Linked DNA regions of Homo sapiens: all the other regions are linked to region 2. Evidence: promoter capture Hi-C in 16 types of primary human blood cells and fetal thymus (Javierre and others, 2016). All regions are on one chromosome and are shown on one strand. Each heading gives the region's core, a stretch centred on a gene start or on the middle of the fragment in contact. The rest is flanking DNA. Distances are from core to core; before and after follow the strand shown.

Evidence for each region. Contacts are between HindIII fragments. The CHiCAGO score rates a contact against its expected background, and 5 or more counts as called.
Region 1: a fragment that was not itself captured here is called in contact with the fragment with the promoter of AMER1 in region 2 in 1 of 17 cell types (total B cells); the score reaches 5.1 in total B cells.
Region 3: a contact is called between a fragment that was not itself captured here and the fragment with the promoter of AMER1 in region 2, in 7 of 17 cell types (naive CD4 T cells, naive CD8 T cells, total CD8 T cells and 4 more). The highest score is 7.9, in naive CD4 T cells.

Annotation. Positions count from the first base shown.
Region 1 is chrX:65,402,876-65,406,873 of GRCh38, forward strand. All of the region lies in intron 5 of ZC3H12B (zinc finger CCCH-type containing 12B), which reads left to right. Among named protein-coding and RNA genes, the nearest start is that of LAS1L, 130 kb to the right of the region's middle. The HindIII fragment of the contact is 3,588 bases long and covers 1-3,548 here.
Region 2 is chrX:64,203,333-64,207,027 of GRCh38, forward strand. It overlaps AMER1 (APC membrane recruitment protein 1), which reads right to left and starts at 2,376. Exons shown (of 2, transcript NM_152424.4): 1 at 2,238-2,376. It overlaps LOC112268307, which reads left to right and starts at 2,614. Exons shown (of 4, transcript XM_047442706.1): 1 at 2,614-2,752; 2 at 3,650-3,695. The coding sequence starts at 2,687. RefSeq lists silencers at 1,483-1,542, 2,523-2,622 and an enhancer at 2,753-2,912. The HindIII fragment of the contact is 4,951 bases long and covers 661-3,695 here.
Region 3 is chrX:65,506,153-65,509,818 of GRCh38, forward strand. It overlaps ZC3H12B (zinc finger CCCH-type containing 12B), which reads left to right. Exons shown (of 10, transcript NM_001010888.4): 10 at 1-1,735. Among named protein-coding and RNA genes, the nearest start is that of LAS1L, 27 kb to the right of the region's middle. The HindIII fragment of the contact is 4,163 bases long and covers 334-3,666 here.

The sequences.
Region 1 (3,998 bases), core at 505-3,004, 1.2 Mb after region 2:
TGAAAACTAAAATTCAATATCAATCACTTCAATGTCCAGACACCAAAGAATATTTACTAGCATCAACACCACCCAGGAAAGCATAACCTCACCAAATGAACTAAATAAGGCACCAGGGATCAATCTTGGAGAAACAGAGATATGTGACTTTTCAGACAGGGAATTCAAAATAGCTGTGTTGAGGAAACTCAAAGAAACTCAAGATAACACAGAGAAGAAATTCAGAATTTTATCAGATTAATTTTTCAGAGATTGAAATAATTTTAAAAATCAAGCAGAAATTCTGGATCTAAAAAGTACAACTGGCATGCTGAAGAATGCATCAGAGTCTCTTAATAGCAGAATTGATCAAGAAGAAAGAGTGAGCTTGACGACAGACTATTTGAAAATACACTGCTAGGGGAGACAAAAGAGAAAAGAATATAAAACAGTAAAGCATGCCTACAGGATCTAGAAAACAGCCTCAAAATGTCAAAGTTAAGAGTTATTGGCCTTAAAAATGAGATAGAGGAAGAGATAGGGGTACAAAGTTTATTCAACAGGATAATAAAAGAGATATTTTCAAACCTAGAGAAAGTTATTAACACTCAAATACAAGAAAGTTATATATCTCCAAGCATATTTAACTCAAAGACTACCTCAAGGCATTTAATAATCAAACTTTCAAAGACCAAGGATAAAAAAAGGATGCTTAAAGCAGCAAGAAAAAAGACACAAATACAATGGAGCTGCAATATGTCTGACAGCAGACTTTTCAGTGGAAACCTTACAGGCCAAGAGAGTGTGACATGACATATTTAAAGTGTTGAAGGGAAAAAACTGTTACCCTAGAATAGTATATATGGCAAAAATTCCCTTCAATCATGAAGGAGAAATAAAGACTTCCACAGACTAACAAAAGCTGAGGGATTTCATTCATAAGAGACCTGTCCTATGGGAAATGTTTAAGGGAGTACATCAATCAGAAAGAAAAAGACATTAATGAGAAACAAGAAATCATCTGAAGGTACAAAACTCATGGGTAATAGTAAGTGCACAGAAAAAAACACCGAATACTTCAGTGTTATAATACTGCAACTGTGATATGTAATCAACTAAAATGCTAGCTAGAAAAACTAAATGATGAACCAAACAAAAATAATAACTACAACAACTTCTTAAGACATAGACAGTACAATAAGATCTAAATAGAAACAAAAAAGTTAAAAAACTTGAAAATAAAGTTATGGCATAGAATTTTGTGTTAGTTTTCTTTTTGTTTCTTTATTTGTTTATGAAAACCGGGTTGAGTAGTTACCGGGTTATAAGATAGCAGGTGCAAGCCTCACAGTAACCTCAAACAAACAACAAAAAAAATTACAATGGAAACAGAAAAACAAAAAGCAAGATAAATCATATCACCAGGGAAAATCGCCTTCACTAAAGGAAGAAAATAAAGAAATAACGCCAAAAAACAAATAACAAAATGGCAGGAGTAAGTCTTTATCAATAATAATGTTGACTGTAAATGAACTAAAGTCTACAATCGAAATAAATAGAGTGGCTGAGTGTATTAAAAACAAGATTCTGTTGCCTACTAGAAACACACTTTACCTATAAAGACACAAATAGATTAAAAGAAAAGTGATGGAAAAGACATTCCATGCCAATGGAAACAATAAATGATCAGGAGTAGCTATACTTATATCAAACAAAATAGATTTCAGGACAAAAACTATAAGAAGAGACAAAGAAAGTTACTATATAATGATAAAGGGGTAAATTCAGTAAGAGGATATATCAATTTTAAATATATATGCACCCAACACTAGAGCCCCTAGATAAGTAAAGGAAACATTATTAGAGCTAAAGAGAGAGATAGTTCCCAATACAATAATATCTGGAGACTTCAACACCCCACTCCCAGCATTGGACAGATCGTCAAGACAGAAAATCAACAAAGAAACATCAGACTTGATCTGCAGTATAGATCAAATGAATCTAATAGATACTTACAGAACATTTTATCTGTTGGTGGCAGAATACACATTCTTTTCTTCAGCACATGGATTATTCTTTAAAATAGACCATATGATAGGTCAAAAAAGTCTGAAAACATTCAACAAAATTGAGATAACATCAAGCATCTTCTCTGACCACAATAAAATAAAATTAGAAATTAATGATAAGATAAATTTGGGAAACTATACAAACACATGGAAGTTAAACAATATGTTCCTGAATGACGAGTGGGTCGATGAAACAATTTTTGTAAACTTCTTAAAACAAAAGACAATGGAAACACAACATACCAAAATCTATGGGATACAGCAAAAGCAGTACTAAGAGGGAAGTTTATAGCTGTAAGTCCCTACATCAAAAAAGAGGAATAACTTCAAATAAACAATCTAATGATACATCTTAAAGAAATAGAAAAGCAAAAGCAAACCAAACCTAAAATTAGTAGGAGAAAAGAACTAATAGGCTGGGTGTGGTGGCTCACGCCTGTAGTCCCAGCACTTTGGGAGGCCGAGGCAGGCGGATCAATTCAAGTCAGGAGTTTGAGACCAGCCTGGCCAACGTGGTGAAACCCTGTCTCTACTAAAAATACAAAAATTAGCCAGGCGTGGTGACAGGTGCCTGTAATCCCAGCTACTCTGCAGGCTGAGGCAAGAGAATCACTCAAACCCAGGAGGCGGAGGCTGCCGTGAGCCAAGATAGCAGCACTGCACTCCCGCCTGGGTGACAGAAGGAGACTCCATCTCAGAAATAATAATAATAATAAAATAAAGATTAAAACAAATAAATGAATTTAAAATGAGGAAAATAATACAAAAGATCAATGAAACAAAAAGTTGGTTTTTTGAAAAGTAAAACAAAATTGACAAAACTTTAGCCAAACTTACTAATAAAAGGAGAGAAGATTCAAATAAAAGCATTAGAAATGAAAAAGGAGACATTACAACTGATACTGCAGAAATTCAAAGATCATTTGTGGCTATGATGAGCAAATATATGCCAATGAGTTGGAAAATCTAGAAGAAATGGACAAATTTCTAGGTACATACAACCTATCAAGATTGAACCAGAAAGAAATCCAAAACCTGAACAGACCAATAACAAGTAATAAGATCAAAGCCATATTAAGAAGTCTCTTAGTAAAGAAAAGCTAGGGACCCAGTGGCTTCACTGCTGATTTCCACAAACATTTAAAGAGAACTGGTACCCATCCTACTAAAACTATTGCGAAAAATAGAAGAACAGAAAATACTTCTAAATTCATTATATGAAGTCAGCATTACCCTGAAACCAAAACCAGACAAAGACACAACAAAAAAAGAAAACTACAGTTCAATATCTCTGATGAATATCGATGCAAAAATCCTCAACAAAATACTAGCAAAACCGAATTCAATGTTACATTAAAAAAAAAAAATTCATCATGACCAAGTGGGATTCATCCCTGGGATGCAAGGATGGTCCAACATATGCAAATCAATCAATGCGATACATCATAGCAACAGGAATGAAGCATAAAAACCATATGATTATTTCAACTGATGCCAAAAAGCTTTTGATAAAATTCAACATCCCTTCATGATTAAAAAAAAAAAAAAGCTCTCATAAAACAGGGGATAGAAAGAACATACCTCAACATAATAAAAGCTATATAGGGCTGCGGGCTAGCGTCCCCCGCCCGATCGGGGCTGAACGGGGCTGGGCGGGGCTGGGCGGGGCTGGGCGGGGCTGGGCGGGGCTGGGCGGGACTGGGCGGGGCCGGGCGGGGCCGGCGCTGGTTAGCTCCTGAGTGTGAAACCGCGTGTTAGTGTAACCCACGCCAGAGGCGCGGGCGGCGGCGGCGGCGGTAGGAGCGGCGGCTGCAGGAGCAGCAGCAGCAGAAGCAGCGGCGGGTACTCTGTGCTCTGCGTCCCGGAGGCAGCCGACTGCGCCACCCCACCCTCGCACGGCCGGGCGGGACCCGCGCCACCAGCCCGGACCTCCGTCGTCCCGCGGCGACC
Region 2 (3,695 bases), core at 1,126-3,625:
GAATCAGGACAAGCGCAAGTTGGAAAGGTAAAGGTCTTCTGGAAAACTCTACAAAGAAAGCAAGTCCTTCCGGAACAATCATTAACTGCTCTGCACTGCTTGGCTTTGAGAGGGTTGTGGCTGAGGTCCAGGTTTTATTTACTCCTCCAAAGGGTTCTGAGAGAACCCAGACATCCATGATATCAGACAAAACAGAGGCAGGCCAACTTAATTATAGTCTGCATCCTATTATAATTTAAGCCTGAATATGCCCAGGAGAAGTAGGCAGCCCTGGAGGAGTTCTGAGAAGAAAGAAGTCACCATGGGTGGGCAAGAGCCAGGCAGAAAGGCACCAAGGAAAAGGAAGGCCCAGAACTGAGGTTTGAGAAGGAAGAAGATTTGGACAGGTGTAGGCTGAGTGGGTTTGGGTGTGGGGAAGGGAGTTACATAGAGCAGATACATTAGGTGCCTGCTGGCCTGAGACAAGGCAGAGGGCAGGTCCAGCCCTGGGCTAGAGATGCCCAGCTGCAAGTAGAGGTTTGTGTTGGGGCCTAATCAAGGTGGGAGGAGGTGACTGTAGTGTGATATCTGTGGTCCTGGCTCCTGTCATAAAGGTCCAGAGCTAGCCTTCCCCCAAGTGAGGAATTTACTGGGTCTCGTTGCCCCTCCTCAAAGTGCCCAAGCTTTGCCTGGGCCCTGCAGCCCACAGGGCTCTCCACACCAGAGGTTAATCAAAGGTCCAAGAGCTTACCAAGCCCCCAGTGGCTTCCTCTGTCCTATTCCTCAAAAAGGCCTAGAGAGCCCACTGCCAGAGGTGCACCATGGTGCAGTGACTGTGCAGTGGGTGGTGCCGAATGAGGGGAGCCACACTGGGGGAGGGGGCTCTGCTGGAATCCCGGTGGGGCAGGCAGTCCAACAGTGCAGTGCCCTCTGCCTTGCCCATGCCCACGCCGCTGCAGCAGGCAGGCAGAGCCGCAGAGGAAGATGTTTGTGTGTGGAACAAGGCTCGCCTTGACCCCGCGGCCCTTGCCGAAAGCAGCCTGGCCAAACGGAGACCAGCTCTGCGGGGCCAGTCCAGCTGCCGCCTAGGCGCTTGGGCTGTGACGCATGTAGCGGGCACAGCCCCTCACCACCGGGGGAGCCAAGCAAAGTCCAGCGTTCGGGCGGTCACCAGTGTCAGAAGTGTCTCCAGCAGACAATGACAGGGGCCTGGCGGGCTGGGTATGTTAAGTAACTGCGAAGTTGGAGGGTTTGGCCACCTCGCTAGCTCTCCTGTACACAGAGATGGTATGATACGTTCCGTACTACAATGAGGGCTCCTTCGGCCTCTGGCAAGGAAATGCCCCCCAAACACCGTGCCTATTGCTATTTTTAAACGGGAGGCTGGAGAGGAAAACGCGGCCAGTATCCTCCAAGGGAAAAGGAGGTGAGGCGAGGCGAGGCGGGAGACAAAGCGGCCTTGCAGCTCTAACTCAAGGACTAGCTTGCGCCGCTGCTCTAACCCAAGGACCAGCAAGAGCCCGGCTGCCAGCCAGCCTGCCCGACCGCGGGGGCGGGCGCCAGATGCGCCCGGAGGCCCAGGAGGAGGGGCGCGGCTAGTTGGGGCCACAAGGCCAAGGTTCTGAAGGGAAGTGTGCGACTGAGCTCAGCCCACAGGCCCAACTGAGCTCCTCTGGGGAGGGGGCAGTCTGTGGATGTCCCAATCCACGCCAAAGCCGGTCTCCGTCGGGCCCAAGCCAGCACGCCAGCTTGAGTCCGCAGAAAGGAGGGAGAGGCTGGAGATGCACAGGGGAGGGGAGGGGCGGCAGCCAGGCAGCCGGAGAGAGGGGTGAGCGGTACCCGCGTTACACAGCTGTTCCAGCAAATGTGCTACAACAAAGCTGCAGAGCTCCTGGCCTACAAATGCATGGCTTGGGGTGCTGGCTGGCGGCGCCCTTCCCGGGACTGTGCGGCAGCACGTGCGGGCCCATCCCCGCCCCCCCGAAAGCCGGGAGGCTTGGCCCAGGCTAGCCTGCCTTCCTACCCGCCCTCCCCAACCCCCCTCCCCCCAGCCGTGGTCGCTTGTGCCCAGGGGACTCAAGGCCGCTCTGCCTCTCCACCCGACAGTCCGCAAAGCGGGTTCCAAAGGAGAGGGGCGAGCGACCGGGACTCCGACCCGCCTAGTCCTTAGTGCCCTCCTCCAGTCCGTAGGAGCAGAGCACGCGGGAATGCACCCGACCGCGGGCAGGCGGAGGCTCCTGGCTGTACGCAACGCTTACCCAGCCCGGTCAGGTTCCTAGCCCGGTTATTGTCCGCTGAGCCGCCCTGGGCCGGGCTGCAGCCTCGGCTGCCACGGCTGAGAGCGCCGCCACCGCAGCTGCTGCCGCCGTCGCCGCGGCTCCAGTCACCTCCAGCACTGACTCCCCTTCCCCAGGCTTTGGGTAGCTCCCCCATACCCCCTCCCCCAGTACTCCAAGGCCACCGGGTGGGGCATCTGCGTCCTGATTGGCAGGCATATGGCCCAATCGCTATGGTGGGAAGGCGTGCCCCGGCCCGCCCACTGTTTTCCTTGGTGCGTTTCTCTTTAAATGCAAATAAGTGCAGGCGTGGTGTTGGCAGGGGGCGGAGAGGGTGCGGAACCACTGGCTGGGGCTCCCCACTCCCGCCCCCACGCCGGGCTGGTAGTGGCGTGGCTACACCGTGGCCTCAAGGAGCCAGTCCTGCCCGGATGGGGCTCGCCGGATCGGTTTCGGTTTTCACGCACTCCCATTTCTGTGGCCGCTGTGCATTCGCGGTACTGTGCCCTGGCCGCCACCAGGACGTTTATTCCTGAGCTAGAGGCCGGCGGGGAGTAACGAGGCAGAGAGGTTGAGGAATCTGGGAAGACTGCAGAAACCTAAGGGCCGGCCTATCCTTAGTCGTAGAGACAAGGCCCTGCGGATCGCGCCGCCAGGCCACCCAGAGGAGGGACTCACCTGCCAGGAAAGCTAGCTGCAGCGCCTGCGCCCTAACTTCGTCCGCCTCTCTGGCACACCAGTGCCCTTAGAGACCATAGAGGCCAACTTCCACCCGTTACCGACGGGCCCTCTGCTGCCCAGAGTGGGGAAAGTCCCTCCCCACAGTTACCCAGCCTGCCGGCGACAAGGGCCAATTTGGAATCCAGAGCCCCGGGCTCCCTTTCCAGGATTGCTTTCACTTTTCTTCTCTGAGATGATACCTGTTTCCATAGTTTGACCCTCACCCAAATTTCGCACCTTCTATGGAATGTGGAGGGAATCCCCAAGGTCTCCAGAGTCCCCCTTCCCCCATCCTTTGTGAGCCTGGCTTTCGGCAGGCCTTTTTCCTTGAAAAGTCTAAATATTGAGAGGAAAATCTTGTCTGGGCCCAAACCGGAGGTCAGGCTGAGGACAAAGTGAGGAGGCCTGTACCAGCCTTGTCTGCTACTGTGTGTGGGATGTGGCAGGGAGCCCGGCGAACTTGGGTCTCTAGCCTAAGGACATTAAGTGGCATCAGTGGCTGCCAGGGCCAGGTGAGCTGAGGCAGCAAAGAATCTAGTTCCACCACTAGTTCAAGAATATCCAGAAGGCCCAGCCCTAAAACTCTGTGTGTGTCTAAAAAGGGAGGTGGGTGGATTAAAGCTGAGGATAGAGAGAAGGATTAGAGAACAATGCGTGCTATTTTTGCATTGCAGGAGTGTTCTCTGCTGCTTCTGGGTCCTGACAGTCTTGAAAAGATCC
Region 3 (3,666 bases), core at 1,165-3,664, 1.3 Mb after region 2:
CAAGGCCTCTTTATTACCACTGCACAGCTATCATGTGTAAAATTTCAAGCATTATATTGCATAAGTTCTCTTTAGCCTATTAAATTTAATATGTCCTTGCAAAAGGGATTTTGTGTAAAAAGTGTCAGTGTTAGTGACTCATCTGCAAGAATCTACAAATGGAGCTATACAACTATGAATACATAAATACAGCATGGTTCCTAGTTATTAGAGAAACATTTTCTTTATATTGAGGTCTACGCACTTCTTGACTTTCCATTTTGTCTGTAATTATAAAACAGCAAATAACAAAGAAGCATTGGGACCCCCTCGGCTGCCTTGATAATAAAATCAAGCTTCCTTCATGGGACTAAGCATGTGTCCTTCAGGATACTTACCTCTAAGCACTCAGCAGGGGTTACTACAAAGCGTTTTGTGTGGTTTTCAAAAAACAGTGTATTTTGCAAGAGGTGCTTTGTAATTTTAATTATTTCACTGATTTTCTGACCTCATAGGAAGTCTGTGCCTGTTGAGGCCTTCAATTTTGTAGCTTTTCTGATTTTTTTTCTTCTTTTTGTGATTTTGTTGTTGTTTTCATTTTGATCTAAAGGAGAAGTGTGACCCCGGAGTGGCATGGTCAATCCAGGGCACCCTTTCTGTAAGACAACTCAAAGGAAAAGAAGCCTTTTCAAAGGTAATATCGAGCCATTGCACTCTCTCTTAAGGTGCCAGGTATGGGAGAATGACAGATGCCTTATGGAAATGGTCTACAAAACTTTTCTTCTTCTAAGTAATAAAACACATAGCATGATTCTCTCTCCCTCTCTCTCTCTCTCTCTGCCCACCCCCTGCTAGTTTCCAGGAGAATACTTCTCTAAAATTCATTTTTTTCTATTTTGGAATAAATTATCTTTATACAGTAATTCAAACACTGATTTCCATTAACCTTTGGCCCTGAGTTTTCTTCTAACATAGAAGAGTTCATTTTGAGAGGCACTCAGTTACCATTCAATCTGTGCTGTAAGTATGGGACTTTGTACAAATGCCCTTTTTGAGGGCCAAAAATTTCAATACACTTTGTTCTACTTTGTGAACCAGGTCTGGATCTGCACAGAGAAAGTAATGCTGAGCTGTCCAAAGAGTCCGCTCAGGTCTCCCTCCTAACCCTCCTCTGCCTTCCCCTAGTTTGCTTATCCTCACGTCTGACACTGAGGAGTGCATAGTCTTCAACTGAAATGGCACTACAGTTAGTTCTCATTGGAAACAAACAAGTGTATTTCTGGAACCTGCTCGTCTAAAATAGTCAATGCCTTTGTAAAGACTCAGCATATTCAATATCTATTGTATGGTAGCTAGCTATATACATAGATTGACTATTTTTAGTCCTGGTTTGTGTATTGTTGAGCTATAGTAGTTTGCTTTATCCATTTGTGGGATTAAACAATACTGTTTAATGGTTGTAAACTTTTATAAAATCTCTTTGGGTTTTTTGTTTGACCCAAACATAATGTAAGTCTTAATGACAAAATACACAAAGTTAACCAGAGGTGAGTGAAAATATAGCCCTTCCCCAGTTTTGTCTGCCCCTATAATGCACGTGCATTGCTTTGTAATATGCTCTCGCTAGCATGAATGTGCTATGACTACTTCATGAGGTTTTGTTTCACCTATAATTGTGATGGAAAATGCTGTATTGCTGACAACAATGAACTGTAACCACAGTTATTTACTGCATAAACTATTTGTGTACTAACCACTCATGGCTCTGTTTCTTTAAGAATACCAACAACAATGGGCCGGGCATGGTGGCTCATGCCTGTAATCCCAGCACTTTGGGAGGCGAAGCAGGCGGATCACCTGAGGTCAGGAGTTGGAGACCAGCCTGGCCAACTGGCGAAACCCTGTCTCTACTAAAAATACAAAAATTAGCCTGGTGTCATGGCACGCACCTGTAATCCCAGCTCCTCGGGAGGCTGAGGCAGGAGAATTGCTTGAATCCAAGACTTGGAGGTTGCAGTGAGCCGAGATCATGCTACTGCACTCCAGCCTGGACGACAGAGTGAGATTCCATCTCAAAAAACAAAACAAAGAAACAAAAAACAACAACAACAAAAGCCATGCCACACATACATATACATATACTACATATACTCTAGTTTGCTCCTAAAGTATTAGATTTATGTCCTTGCGACTTATATTTTGAGATTAAAAACTATAAAGGCAGGGATTTCCCCAAATGTGTTCATCTGAATTTTACCACAGTAAGTATATGTCCTCAAAATTTTGAAGACTAACAAACAGTTCCAAGTGCTAATCGAACTGGTGCTCCCCGCAGGGCAGGGCTGGGCCTGCTTTTGCCCACCAGTCAGAACCAAGTGGCGGGCCCAGGGCCCAGACTTAATTTTTGTACGCAGCCTGTAGTTTCTCCCCTGAATAGCCTCAGGTCCAAAAATACATCATCTGCTGTCTCAGCCAGAATATCAGAGCCAAAAGGAGCCTACTATCCTACACTTCACACTCAGAGCGCTCAGCTGCATCAACCCCTTCAGGGTATAGTGCGTGAACTGAGGCTCCAAGAGCACTGAAGAGATTTGACCAAGGCCAAACAGAATTAGTGGCAAAGGCAGGTACTGGAAGCCCAGGCCTCATGACTCCCAGGCTGGTAAGCCCTTTATCATAGTGGAGTTGGTTCTTCTTCTCTCTGAAGCCTCCTACCCACCCTCCACCGCACTCCAGGCCAGTCTCATTCTAAAGGTAGAGGTAGCCATGATGGTTGCAGCAGAGCCCAGTCTACGAGCCTTTAGAAGAGGCTATTTGTGAATCTGAGAATCTTTTTTTGTTATCATCCTCCACAGGACTAAGAGTGCTTATCTCTCCCCACCTTTTTCCTGTTCTGTCTCTTACTCTTCCTGTCACATTCCTCGGGCATACATGTATCAAGTTCTTACTGAGTACGGGATAGGGGTCTGGCCTATACTAAGCTAGGCAGGCAGAAGAGGAATAGTCCATCTTGGGGAACTTGCACTCAGGGGGGGAATGAAGCACACTCAGAGAATAAAGTAAGACATTAAGACTTCCTTGGAGGGCAGTGGCAGCATGAGGGTAAAGAGAGTGGTAAGAACAACTAGAATTCCAAGACGGGACAATCAACAAACATCCAGTGCTTCTGCCCTAATCTCAGGTGGAAAATGAACTAGTCTGGTCATATCCCTCTCCACCTCCCCTCAGGCCTCATGTAATACCAAGTCCTTCATATCACCATGTTCCAATTATCCTGTACCCTGCATTGGTGCCCCCAACCATGCTTTCTCAACCTCTCCAGACTTTGACCTTCCTTCTACTCCTTGTTCTGACTAGTAGTCTTGCCTTTGAAGACCCAGTGCCAATTTCACCTCCTCTATCAAGCTGTCCAACCCCCGGTCAAGCTACTGTTAGTCCCTCCCAACAGTGGGCCTTGTAGGAATATTGAGCAATACCTCTTAGCTCTTGTCACTCACTTTGGCACACCGTCTCTACCACAAAACAGGGAGTTCCTTGGGCACGGGAGCCATGTTCTTTGCCACTGATGAATTACCTATCGGGGGGAATCTCTGAATTACTGTTGTTGAACAATAAGATAATCTATGCTCCCTTTCCTTGACCCCTATCCCTGTTTCCCAGTTAAAAGAAGTGTGCATTTCAGGCTGG